4 separate regions of the Homo sapiens genome follow, and regions 1, 3 and 4 are each linked to region 2. The links are contacts of gene promoters, found by promoter capture Hi-C in human tissues and cell types (Jung and others, 2019). All regions are on one chromosome and are shown on one strand. Each heading gives the region's core, a stretch centred on a gene start or on the middle of the fragment in contact. The rest is flanking DNA. Distances are from core to core; before and after follow the strand shown. Region 1 overlaps LOC105369789 (a long non-coding RNA gene). Region 2 holds the start of LRIG3 (leucine rich repeats and immunoglobulin like domains 3). Region 3 overlaps LINC02388 (long intergenic non-protein coding RNA 2388). Region 4 has its middle 340 kb from the start of LINC02403.

Region 1 (2,910 bases), core at 380-2,879, 370 kb before region 2:
TATATAATCAGGCAAACTCCTCGGCTCCTCATATCCCATTATTAAGTTAATCCTTTGTTCTCATGGAGAAATCAACCCCTTCCCTCAAAAATGAATCTCTTCTTGTTCCCCCAAAGAAATTAGTGTACTCAAGGATGTAAGAAAGTAATTCAAAATAATTGCTTTTCAATTTTCCTTTTTCTTATTTTTCTCAATATCCATGAAAGGGGCTTCTCTCAGCAGCCTGGTTGGAATCTCATTCTCATCTTTGGCACTTTCTGCCTGGGGCACCCATGGGTGCATCTGTAGTTCCTTCTGAATCTCTGAAAGTAGATTAATTTTACTCCAACTCTTTCATATACTTCGCTTTTCCAAAGTTCCACAGGGGCAACAAGATGCAGAGGACCTCCTCAATGCAAAGTCCATACCTGCAACATTTGGGAAACTCAAGCACATTTCCTAAAAACACGTGGCAATGCACTAATTTACAATATAGGCCTGAATCCCCATAAATCAAAGCTTTTCCCAGGCAAAGGTAATTTTTCCAGGATCCATTACGTGTTACATTCTAATCTGTGGTTCTCAACCCTGGCCATACATTGAAATTATGTGGGGGGTTTCTAAAAAATATTGCTTTCCAGGCCTCACCTCAAAGCAGCTAGATATATGGGAGTGGGACCCAGATATTGATACTTTTTAAAGTTTGGAGAAGTCACTGATGGAAGCACAACCTTAATCTATTTCTAGCTGTAAATTATAACAGATTAAATTATCTGGGAAAAAGGGATAGGCTGAAAAAGGAGAGGGAGAAGTAGGGAACTCATGATTTCAACTCTTCTAGGGTCCGCTGAATCCATGACAGTTACCCAGGATCCACTGCCTGCAAACTTAGAAATTAAAACTTATTTTGGATAAGCTTCCAATGAAGAGGTTCCTTGTACACTAAGCTTCTTATATTCCCAAAGGGAAAACAAGCCTTGAAGAGCCCCATGTTGCTAGGGAGTCCAGTGCAGTGAAGGCCAGGTCTGGCTGAGCAGTCAGGTCCCTGGGCTTCTCCCCTTATTATATTATTTTTCAGAGAAGGAGAAAAGAAAACAAAAAATAAAACTAAGTGTGGTGGGATTTATTAATAATGAAATGTGTTAATAAAAGATATTTGTCAGAGGAAGAAAATAGTAAAATCTTTCCTTCCTTAAAAGTTTGCATTTAAAGTTGAAATGGTTTCCATGCTTAATGAAAACTGTCTTATCTTTCTTAGCTATGTTTTTTTTTTTTTTGCGACAGAGTCTGGCTCTGTCACCCGGGCTGCAGTGCAGTGAAACAATCTTTGTTCACTGCAGCCTCCAACTCCTGGGCTTAAGTGATCCTCCAATCTCAGCCTCCTGAGTAGCTGGGACTACAGGCATATGCCACCATGCTTGGCTAATTTATTTATTTATTTATTTATTTATATTTTTTGTAGAGATGGGGCCTTGCCATGTTGTCCAGGCTGGTCTTAAACTCTTGGACTCCAGCAATCTGCCTGCCTCAGCCTCCCAAAGTGCTGGGATTGCAGGTGTGAGCCACTGTGCCTGGCTTGTCTTATTGTCTTATACATCAAAACAAATAATGCACAAACATACAAAAATATTCACCTTTGAATCCCATGCCTTCCCAAGATTACTGGCAATATTATCCATTCTTTTATGTTAGTTCAGAAACAGGACTTTGTGCTCTTTCTTACTGACAGAGAACTACACTAGTGGGGTTCACTTGCCTCATGTGCTGGGAGAAGAAACGTAGAAGGCCCTCCTCAAAATGTCTCAGGTCCTCTGTGCGGGGCCATGTTCATCACAGAGTTTACATGTGGATTCCAAACGTCTTACTGTGACTGTCAATAACACCCTTTCATGAGTTGGAAACTTCCTATTATTGCAGAAAAGATGAGGCAAAACAACCATTTCTCACCCTTTCCTTTCAAGAGAAATGGCTCAGCAGTTGCAAAATTCATTCCTGCACAACTATGGGCCTGTAATAACCTTGATTGGTTTGGTAGATTTATCTGCTGACAGACCATAATTGAGGAAAACATTGATTAATTGATCTCTGACTGGCTTGTGAGGTGCTATATAGCAATAAGGAATATGTGGTATGTAGATCAGCTTTTAATTATTTTTGTTTAGGTTCCTGTCAGATTAAATAAGTGACTAGGCAGTATTATCATTGATCTGTGGCACTGGAAGAAATAGTTCACAGTACATGCTGAAGATTTAGAAATGGTTCATCCTACAAGTTTAGAATGCATCTTTGCCTTATAAAGCTTTGACCTATGTAAAATCCAGATTATGCTAACAAGTTCAATTTGTGCAAAGCTTTGCAGCTTACAAATCATTTTCTCATGCATCATCCTACTTGACCCTCATGACAAATCTGAGAGGTAGGGTGGGCAGGTGTTACTATTCCTCCTTTACAAGCAAAGACAGTAAGGCTAAGAGATTTCCCCCATCCCCACCCCAAGTAATAACACCTTATTTTAATTTGCAGAGTATGGAAAGCAAAGGAAAATTAGAAATTATTTAGCAAATTCTAGCTGGTTAAGCATGTGGAAGGCATTAATCACCACCCCAAACAACACCATACTCATCAATATTGTTTCTTACCATTAAATGTGCTGAAATAGAAATTGCTATTTTGACAATGTGAAGTATTATTACAAGGATTTGAGTTTGCTAAAAGGCCTTATCTCCTTCAATTTGATACTGTGTACAGGAAAAGCTCAAGATAATAACCCATTAACCACAGTTATTAAAGGTTTTCCCGCTGTATTTACAAAACTCATGAAAAAAAAATCGTTATTGACAGAACTAGCCAAAAATTAGTACAGATCCTTGACACTCAGGGAAACAGAGGTCAAATATAGAATATTAATATTGAACAACATGTGTACTATAC
Region 2 (2,700 bases), core at 93-2,592:
AGATGACATTTGGAAAAGATCAGCATTTCCAACTAAATTACATTTTCTTCCTTGTTCTTCACGCAGTTGGCAGTGATTTCAGGTTTTCAGACTTCGCAGCTAAAAATCCAAAAACTTGCATAAGAGCTCCCTGCGCTCTCCCCTAAACCGTCTGGGCGTTCTGAGGAGCTACAGAAATCACGCCCTTGATTCTGGATAATCGAGTTCCGCCCTTTCCATAGCTACCGACCAGTCTTTACAATCTGGTTGAGGAGTGGGAACTTACGGTCTGCTAATGTGAAAAAGCAAGCAGAGGGAGAACAACAGAAGTACGTCCACCATAACTTGGAGAATGACCGAATTCTGTTGAGGGGGCTTCCCAAATGAAAAGCCTGACTTCAGTTACTGGGTGGGAACAGGAAAAGGAGTCTGACGCAGCTAGAAACTAAAACTGAACCAGACTCATAACTCAGCGAGAACTGCAAACTCCTGATGTGTGCAGGTTGCCGCTTATCTCCCCTGGGCCTGGCAGGAGCAAGCATTTGAACCCCTTGGCTAGCTTAGGGCGCAGGACTTCATCCCCAATCTCTGGCGTCGTTACTGGCCCCCAACCCTGGTCTACCTGCAGCCAGTTAGGACGCGCCAAGAGCCCACCTGCGCCGCCCGCAAAGCACGTGGGAGGGAAACTGAGGCCCGGACAGTTCTTTTTCCACGCCCACGGAGCGCCGATCGCGGCCTGGGCCAGAAGGAGCTATACGGCAAAAAGGGGACTGCACGCCGAACCCCATTCCCCGCCGGCTCCTGTTTTCTCGAATCTCCAGCGGCCCGGGCCCCCTCCCCCCGCGGGAAGAATACTTACAGCCGAGCGACCCAGGACGGGAGTGGCTCGGGAAGACGCGCTAGCCGCTTACGACTGCAGTCCAGCAGGTCCCCGAGGCAGCGGCAGGTAGTGGGGCATGGGCGCTCGGCGGCTACCCCAGAGGGCTGCCCGAGTTCCCCGCGACCGCCGCTGTCTGACCGGCCAGCGCGCCCCAGCACCGCGCACAGCAGCAGCCCCAACCCCGCGGCGCGCGCACGGAGGCTCGGCGCGCTCATCGCGGTCCAGCGGCCTAGGTCTCTACCCGAAGCTCCCAGCCGGCGCGCGCTCGGGGCCCGGCACAAACTTCCAGCCGAGGGTGCACGCCCGCCCTCGCGGTCGCGTGCGCGCTCCTCCCTCGCGCTGCCCGGTCAATTCCTTCTTTTACTCCCGGCGGCGAAGCCCTTTCATGCCCCCAAACAGCAGGAGGGAAACCGAAAAGAACTGCCAACTGCAACAGAGTTGCAGCTTGAGCAGCGTCGGCTCGCCGAAGCCCCTTCTTGTCTGCAAAAGAAACTTTTTCGCCTCCACCCCGCGGCACTGCGCCAAGTCCCCGCGCGGCGGAGTAGCAAGGCGGGCGGGTAGAGGCCGACGCGCGCCCATTGGCCGACTCGGCTGCGGGCGTCCCCGTGGCCACGTGACAATAACACCGCTCCAGCCGGGGGCCTACGCGCGGGAGAAAGTGGAGCTGAGATTGTAGGAAATTCAGAGTTATATTTTCCAGCCTCTCCAGCCAGAAGTCTCCACTACGTCGTGGGAAACATATATCAAATGGAGTTGAAAGGCAAAAGGAAGTGAGCAAATACTGGGCTAGTTCTCGGAGTTGGAGGTATTTAGGAGAACTTCAGGGAAGTAAAGTTTAATTAGCAGTGTTTTCAGGAAACTTTTCAATTCCAAATTAAAGACACTGATAAATTATCCTACCATCCACAGATGAAAGAGTGGTTTCAATGAAAACAGCTCTTTCAACGTTAATGCTGGTGGGTGTTCCCCCATACATCGGCTTCAAAAGTAAAAACAATAATAAAACGTAAAACTCGTGGTTTTGGAAAGTGTATATTGAATTACAAATAGCCAGCCTTCGTGCACTGGATAAAGCTGGGCGGGGTGGGGGATGGGAGATGACCTTCTAATAGACCTCGATGGCAATCATAGATTCCTGGTAATAGTAATAATAAAAGTAGTCACAGTGACATTTCAAAGTAAAATGAAAACTAAGACCTTGGAGGAAAAAATTAGTATATGCACCTTGGTCCACTTGCGCTTTGAGTAATGACACATGTTGATTGAGAATGCTACCAGGGTAAAAGTACCTCCCGGCCTCCTCAGCTGGGGGAGTGGATGTTTGGGGCTGGATTCAGGCTACAGGACTTCCCAGTGAAGTTTGTTCCTTAACTTACAGGTGATCAGCGCCACAAGATGTTGAAACTAATGGAGACCGCAGAGATCATGTGCTAAGGGGCCTTCCTCCTCTGGGTAAGGAAATAGACCTAGAGAACGTAACTAATGTGTTTGTTGCAAAAAAAATAAAAATAAAAGCAAGACAGAAAACATGAACAAACCAAAAAACAAACCCTGGAAGCTTAAAGTAAGTTTTCACTTCTATACATTGTTTATTGCATGCTGTCTGCCCAAGCTTGTCTGTCCTTGGAGTTGCGTAAACTGCTCATGATTGAGGAGTGGAGATAGCTTGTGGAGTTGAGACTTTAACCCTGACTCTAAGGCCCATTGATTTTTCACTGTAGCAAATCACTCCCACTTACGGGGGAAGGAAAAGACTCACTTTGAAGTTAACACACCCTATTTTAGATATGGTATCCCATTTTCTTATTTCCAGCTACCATTAACAACAACGCTACTACCTT
Region 3 (2,700 bases), core at 108-2,607, 290 kb before region 2:
CAGCAAGATGGTGGAATAGGAGGTTACCCCCTTGTATCCCCCCAGGGCAACATGAATTCTGCACCCATCTACAAACAAAAGTCTCTTTGTGGGAGATTTGGGATTCATGTACGGGGTTGTAAAACTTCTCTTTTGAGCCAAAGATCTAAGAGGATTGGTTTGAGAGTGCAGATCTGCACCTAGGTGGCAGGCCCTCCAGTTATGCTCCCAATTTTGGACCCAGAAACAACCTCATTTTCCAAAGAGTTTGGCTACAGCCCCATTTGGCCTTGAGACAACTACCAAAACCATCTGCTAAGGGATCTGGGAAGAATCACACACGCTAGTTCCTTGAGAGACAGGCCTGTCTTCTTGCTGACATCTGTCTCTGCAGTGGACCTGAAAGTTACCCTGTAAATAGGCTACAGCCCTCCTGAGCTGTGGTCCCAGCTTTGTACTGCTTGCGCATAGACCAAGAAGGAGATTTGCCTACCTGATGCACCAGGACGGGCTTGCTGGCCTCTGTCCTATAGTAGATCCTGAAATGACCCTCTCTTGGCCCCAGCCACCCTGCCACATCCCCAGAGTTAATTTTCTTATGCAGGGACTACTATCCTGGCCAGGCTTGCCAGCCTGTCCCAGAGCAGTTCCTGAAGAGGCCTTGAATCTCAGCTCTGGCCCCTCTGAGCTGAGGTCTGGGAGTAACTCTGTCCTTATGCTGGAAGTCTCACACATTGGTGTCACTGAGTCAGGCTTGCCAACATCGATCCCATAGCAGATTCTGAAATAACTCAGAAGCTTGATTGTAGCCCCTCCTGGCTGTGTTCTGGAAACAGCTCTTCCAAGTACAGCTCCCTCTGGGAGACAAGCCCCTCTGAATCCCTGTGACAGGTTTGCCAATTTCTTTCCCAGAGTAGATCCTCAAATGATCCTGGATTTCATTTCTGGCCCTTTCTGTCTTGAAGATAAGAGTAGTTCCATTTGCCTGGAGAACCAGAAGGAAGCACACCCTGTAGGGCCCCTGCATAGTGACACCCTGAACTTGGTCTCACTGTAGATCTTGAAATAACCCTATAAATTGACTCCAGTCCTCCTCAGCTGCAGTCTAAGAACTGGCCTGCTCACCCAGAAAATCACTGGGAGACATACCAATTCATGACCCTGGAGACAGGCCTAAAGATTTGGTATTGATGGTGGACCCTGAAATAACCTTGTATCTCAGTTCAGAACATCTTAACTATGGAACCCATCCAGTGATCCAGTGAGATCTCTCCTATTTGAAGGGAAGCCACACCCCTCAGTACATATGGTAACAGACCTGGCATCTGCAAACCCTAAAGTTGACCTTTATCTCAATGCCAGCCACACAGACCAGGTCCTGAAGACAATTCAGTCTACTCAGGGACATAGAGGCCCATGCCCACTAGAATCCCTGGTAACAGGCTTTCCAATGAAGACTCAGCATCAGTCATGAGACCTGATCCAATCCCACTCAATGGCAATCCCAGAGGTAATCTTATCAGCTGGGAGACCTAACAGGAGAAGATTTTAACTTGCTAAAACCAGTCTGTAAAGATTGAAAAGGGGACTTGCCCCTTCAAGTGCACTGGTACTAATGGAAGGCTTTGCAGATAATAAAGAATTGGGCAAGCATGACACCACCAAGGGAAACTAATACAGTTTCAATAATCAGCTCCAAAGAAATGGAGATATAAAATTTACCTGAAAAAGAATTCAAAATAATAATTTTAAAGAAGCTCAATGAGAAGCAACAAAATACAGACAGAAAAACAATACCTGAGCAAAATAAGTTTAATAAAGGAAAAGAAAGCATAAAAAAGACCCAAACAGAAATCCTGGACAATGCAATGACAGGACTAAAAGATTCAATAGAAAATTTTAACAGCAGGCTTGATCATGCAGAAAAAATAATTAGTGAACTTGAAGACAATTCAGTTGAAATTAGACAATTAAAGAAACTAAAAGAAAAAAACTGAAAAAGAGTGAAGAAAACATAAGGGACATACAGGACATCATCAAACATACAAATATATAAATTATGGAGGTACCAGAAGGGGAAGAGAAAGAGAAAGGAGCAGAAAGATTATTTAAATAATTACTCTCTGCAAGCTTTCCAAATATTGGGAGGGATACAGACATACAGATTCAGGAAGTTGAAAAGATCTCAAGTAAGATCAAGAGAAAAAGGAATATTCCAATATATGTTATAATCTAATTGTCAAAGTCAAAATCAAAAAGAGAATCTTGAAAGCCACAAGAGAGAAGAAACTCATCACATGTAAAGAATCTCTGTAAGGCCATAAATGAATATCTCAACAGAAATCTTGCAAGTCAGGAAGGAGTGGGATGACTTATTCAAAAAGCTATCCTTCAGAAAGGAAGGAGAGATAAAGACATTGCAGGAACAAACAAAAGCTGAAAGAATTCATTACCACAAGATTGGCCTTACAAAAAATGCTAAAGGGAGTTCTTTGAGTTGAAATGAAAGGATAATAAAAAACAATATGAAAACATGAAAGTATAAAGCTAACTGCTAAAAGTAAATACATGGTCAACTTCACAACACCCTCATACTGTAAAGCTAATGGGTAAATCCCTCTTAAGTCTAGTATAAAAGTTAAAAGACAAATGTTTTAAAAACAACTATAGCTATAAAAAATTGGTTAACAGATGCAAAACATAAATAAATGTAGAGTATGA
Region 4 (2,937 bases), core at 126-2,625, 490 kb before region 2:
ATTAGGGCCTGAATGGCCTTTGAAACTCATCTTATTTGTATTTGAGTGAGGGCTAAATTATATATCTTTTCCACACTAGGAAGAAAGAAAGTGGATTAAAGAAGAAAGATAGCTGTTTGAAATGCACAATGCCTTTACTAGGAACTAAAGGAATTGCATTCAATGGAAGCTGAATTTCAGACTAGTAAATGTGTTGGTAATCCTCTCTTTGTTTACTGAAAATGAATCACTTCTCAGTTTCTGAAAGGAAACAAAGAAATGTGCCCTGTGTTTGCAAAGGCTATAAATCCTCTAGTTGAGGCCATTTCAAGCTCACTGAGACTGCTGGTAAGGTTGAGTCATGCTTTCAAGAATGCATGGTGCAGTTTCAAAAAGAAAAAACAAAATGTGTTCCGAGTCAGCAGCGTTGCTGAGCAAACTGATGGTGAGTTTTCTGGAGAATCAGCCTTCAGCTCTGTGCCCACAGTCAGGTCACCCATTTATTCCTCAGAGTCAAATGGCAAATGTGTTCGTGCTGGTAAAGGTCAGTCAACACATTCAACTCTTACCCTTGGAGAGAAAGCTGGAAACCATCTTGGACACTTCTCATTGGCTTAGGAATGTCAGCTGAACTTGGAAACCTGCCCAGACTGTATTTTGCCATGACTGGCAGAGATAGGGTCTCCCACCAACTTCTCAGAACCACACTTGCAAAGATTAACTCTTTTGCACAGGAAACACCAACTTTCTATCTGGCCACATTGCTGCCTGAGACATGGCTTCTATTCTGAAGAGCTGCCAAGAGGGAGACTCTGTATGGCTGAATAGGAACAGCTCTGGTCTGCAGTTCCCAGTGAAATCAACACAGAAGGCCTGTGATTTCTGCATTTCCAACTGAGTGTAAACAAAGCTGCCAGGAAGTTCGAACTGGGCGGAGCCCACCGCAGCTCCACAAAGCCTCTGTAGCCACACTGCCTCTCTAGATTCCTCCTCTCTGGGCAGGGCATCTCTGAAAGAAAGGCAGCAGCCCCAGTCAGGGGCTTATAGATAAAACTCCCATCTCCCTGGGACAGAACACCTGGGGAAAGGGGCGGCTGTGGGCACAGCTTCAGCAGACTTAAACATTCCTGCCCATTGGCTCTAAAGAAAGCAGAGGATCTCTCAGCACAGCCCTTGAGCTCTGCTAAGGGACAGACTGCCTCCTCAAGTGGGTCCCTGACCCCCATGCCTCCTGACTGGGAGACATCTCCCAGCAGGGGTCGACAGACATCTCATACAGGAGAGCTCCAGCTGGCATCTTGTGGGTGCCCCTCTGGGGGACGAAGCTTCCAGAGGAAGGAACAGGCAGCAATCTTTGCTGTTTGGCAGCCTCTGCTAGTGATACCCAGGCAAACAGGGTCTGGAGTGGACCTCCAGCAAACTCCAGCAGACCTGTATCAGAGGGGCCTGTTAGAAGGAAAATTAACAAATAGAAAGGAATAGCATAAACATAAAGAAAAAGGACGTCCACACGGAAACCCCATCTGAAGGTCACTAACATGAAAAACCAAAGGTAGATAAAACCACGAAGATGAGGAAAAACCAGCACAAAAAGGGTGAAAATTCCAAAAAGCAGAACGCCTCTTCTCCTCCAAAGGATCACAACTCCTCACCAGCAAGGGGACAAAACTGGATGGAGAATGAGTCTGATGAATTGACAGAAGTAGGCTTCAGAAGGTGGGTAATAACAAATTCCTCCGAGCTAAAGGAGCATGTTCTAACCCAATGCAAAGAAGCTAAGAACCTTGAAAAAAGGTTAGAGGAATTGCTAACTAGAATAACCAGTTTAGAGAAAACATAAATGACCTGAAGGAGCTGAAAAACACAGCACAAGAACTTCGTGAAGCATACAAAGTATCAATAGCTGAATCAGTGAAGTGGGTGAAAGGATATCAGAGATTGAAGTTCAACTTAATGAAATAAAGTGTGAAGACAAGAATAGAGAAAAAAGAATAAAAAGGAATGAAGAAAGCCTCCAAGAAATATGGGACTTTGTGAAAAGACCAAACCTATGTTTGATTGGTGTACCTGAAAGTGACAAGGAGAATGGAACCAAGTTGGAAAGCACTCTTCAGGATATTATCCAGGAGAACTTCCCCAACCTAGGAAGACAGGCCAACATCCAAATTCAGGAAATACAGAGAACACCACAAGGATATTCCTTGAGAAGGGCAACCCAAAGACACATAATAGTCAGATTTGCCAAGTTTGAAATGAAGGAAAAAATATTAAGGGCAGCCAGAGAAAGGTCGGGTTACCACAAAAGGAAGCTCATCAGACTAACAGTGGATCTCTCTGCAGAAACCTAACAAGCTAGAAGAGAGTGGGGGCCAATATTCAACATTCTTATATAAAAGAATTTTTCAAGCCAGAATTTCATATCCAGCCAAACTAAGCTTCATAAGTGAAGGAGAAATGAAATCCTTTACAGACAGGCAAATGCTGAAAGATGTTGTCACCATCAGGCCTGCCTTACAAGAGCTCCTCTTGAAGGAAGCACTAAATATGCAAAGGAAAAACCCATACCAGCCACTGCAAAAACATACCAAATTGTAAAGATCATCAACACTATGAAGAAACTGCATCAACTAATGGGCAAAATAACCAGGTAGCATCATAATGACAGGATCAAATTCACACATAACAATATTACCCTTAAATGTGAATGGGCTAAATGCCCCAATTAAAAGACACAGACTGGCAAATTGGATAAAGAGTCAAGACCCATTGGTGTGCTGTATTCAGGAGACCCATCTCAAGTGCAAAGACACACATAGGATCAAAATAAAGGGATGGAGAAATATTTACCAAGCAAATGGAAAGCAAAAGAAAAAAAAACAGGAGTTTCAATCCTAGTCTCCGATAAGACAGACGTTAAATCAACAAAGATCAAAAAGACAAAGAAGGGCATTACATAAT

Evidence for each region. Contacts are between HindIII fragments. The study calls those that stand out against the background at their distance.
Region 1: a contact is called between a fragment that was not itself captured here and the fragment with the promoter of LRIG3 in region 2, in 2 of the 25 tissues and cell types used here (dorsolateral prefrontal cortex and mesenchymal stem cells).
Region 3: a contact is called between a fragment that was not itself captured here and the fragment with the promoter of LRIG3 in region 2, in 2 of the 25 tissues and cell types used here (bladder and dorsolateral prefrontal cortex).
Region 4: a fragment that was not itself captured here is called in contact with the fragment with the promoter of LRIG3 in region 2 in 1 of the 25 tissues and cell types used here (mesendoderm cells).

Annotation. Positions count from the first base shown.
Region 1 is chr12:58,549,279-58,552,188 of GRCh38, forward strand. LOC105369789 (a long non-coding RNA gene) reads right to left here. Exons shown (of 3, transcript XR_945007.3): 3 at 1,811-1,884. Among named protein-coding and RNA genes, the nearest start is that of LINC02388, 230 kb to the right of the region's middle. The HindIII fragment of the contact is 3,536 bases long and covers 1-2,910 here.
Region 2 is chr12:58,919,162-58,921,861 of GRCh38, forward strand. It overlaps LRIG3 (leucine rich repeats and immunoglobulin like domains 3), which reads right to left and starts at 1,343. Exons shown (of 19, transcript NM_153377.5): 1 at 839-1,343. The coding sequence starts at 1,074. LRIG3-DT (LRIG3 divergent transcript) reads left to right here and starts at 1,543. Exons shown (of 6, transcript NR_183518.1): 1 at 1,543-1,629; 2 at 2,238-2,311. RefSeq lists an enhancer at 240-509 and silencers at 890-969, 1,390-1,499, 2,118-2,227. The HindIII fragment of the contact is 9,447 bases long and covers 1-2,700 here.
Region 3 is chr12:58,631,302-58,634,001 of GRCh38, forward strand. All of the region lies in intron 1 of LINC02388 (long intergenic non-protein coding RNA 2388), which reads right to left. The region is part of intron 1 of LOC100506869 (a long non-coding RNA gene); the gene reads left to right. Among named protein-coding and RNA genes, the nearest start is that of LINC02388, 150 kb to the right of the region's middle. The HindIII fragment of the contact is 5,154 bases long and covers 1-2,700 here.
Region 4 is chr12:58,425,353-58,428,289 of GRCh38, forward strand. No RefSeq gene overlaps it. Among named protein-coding and RNA genes, the nearest start is that of LINC02403, 340 kb to the left of the region's middle. RefSeq lists enhancers at 1-677, 682-761, 942-1,061. The HindIII fragment of the contact is 3,948 bases long and covers 1-2,937 here.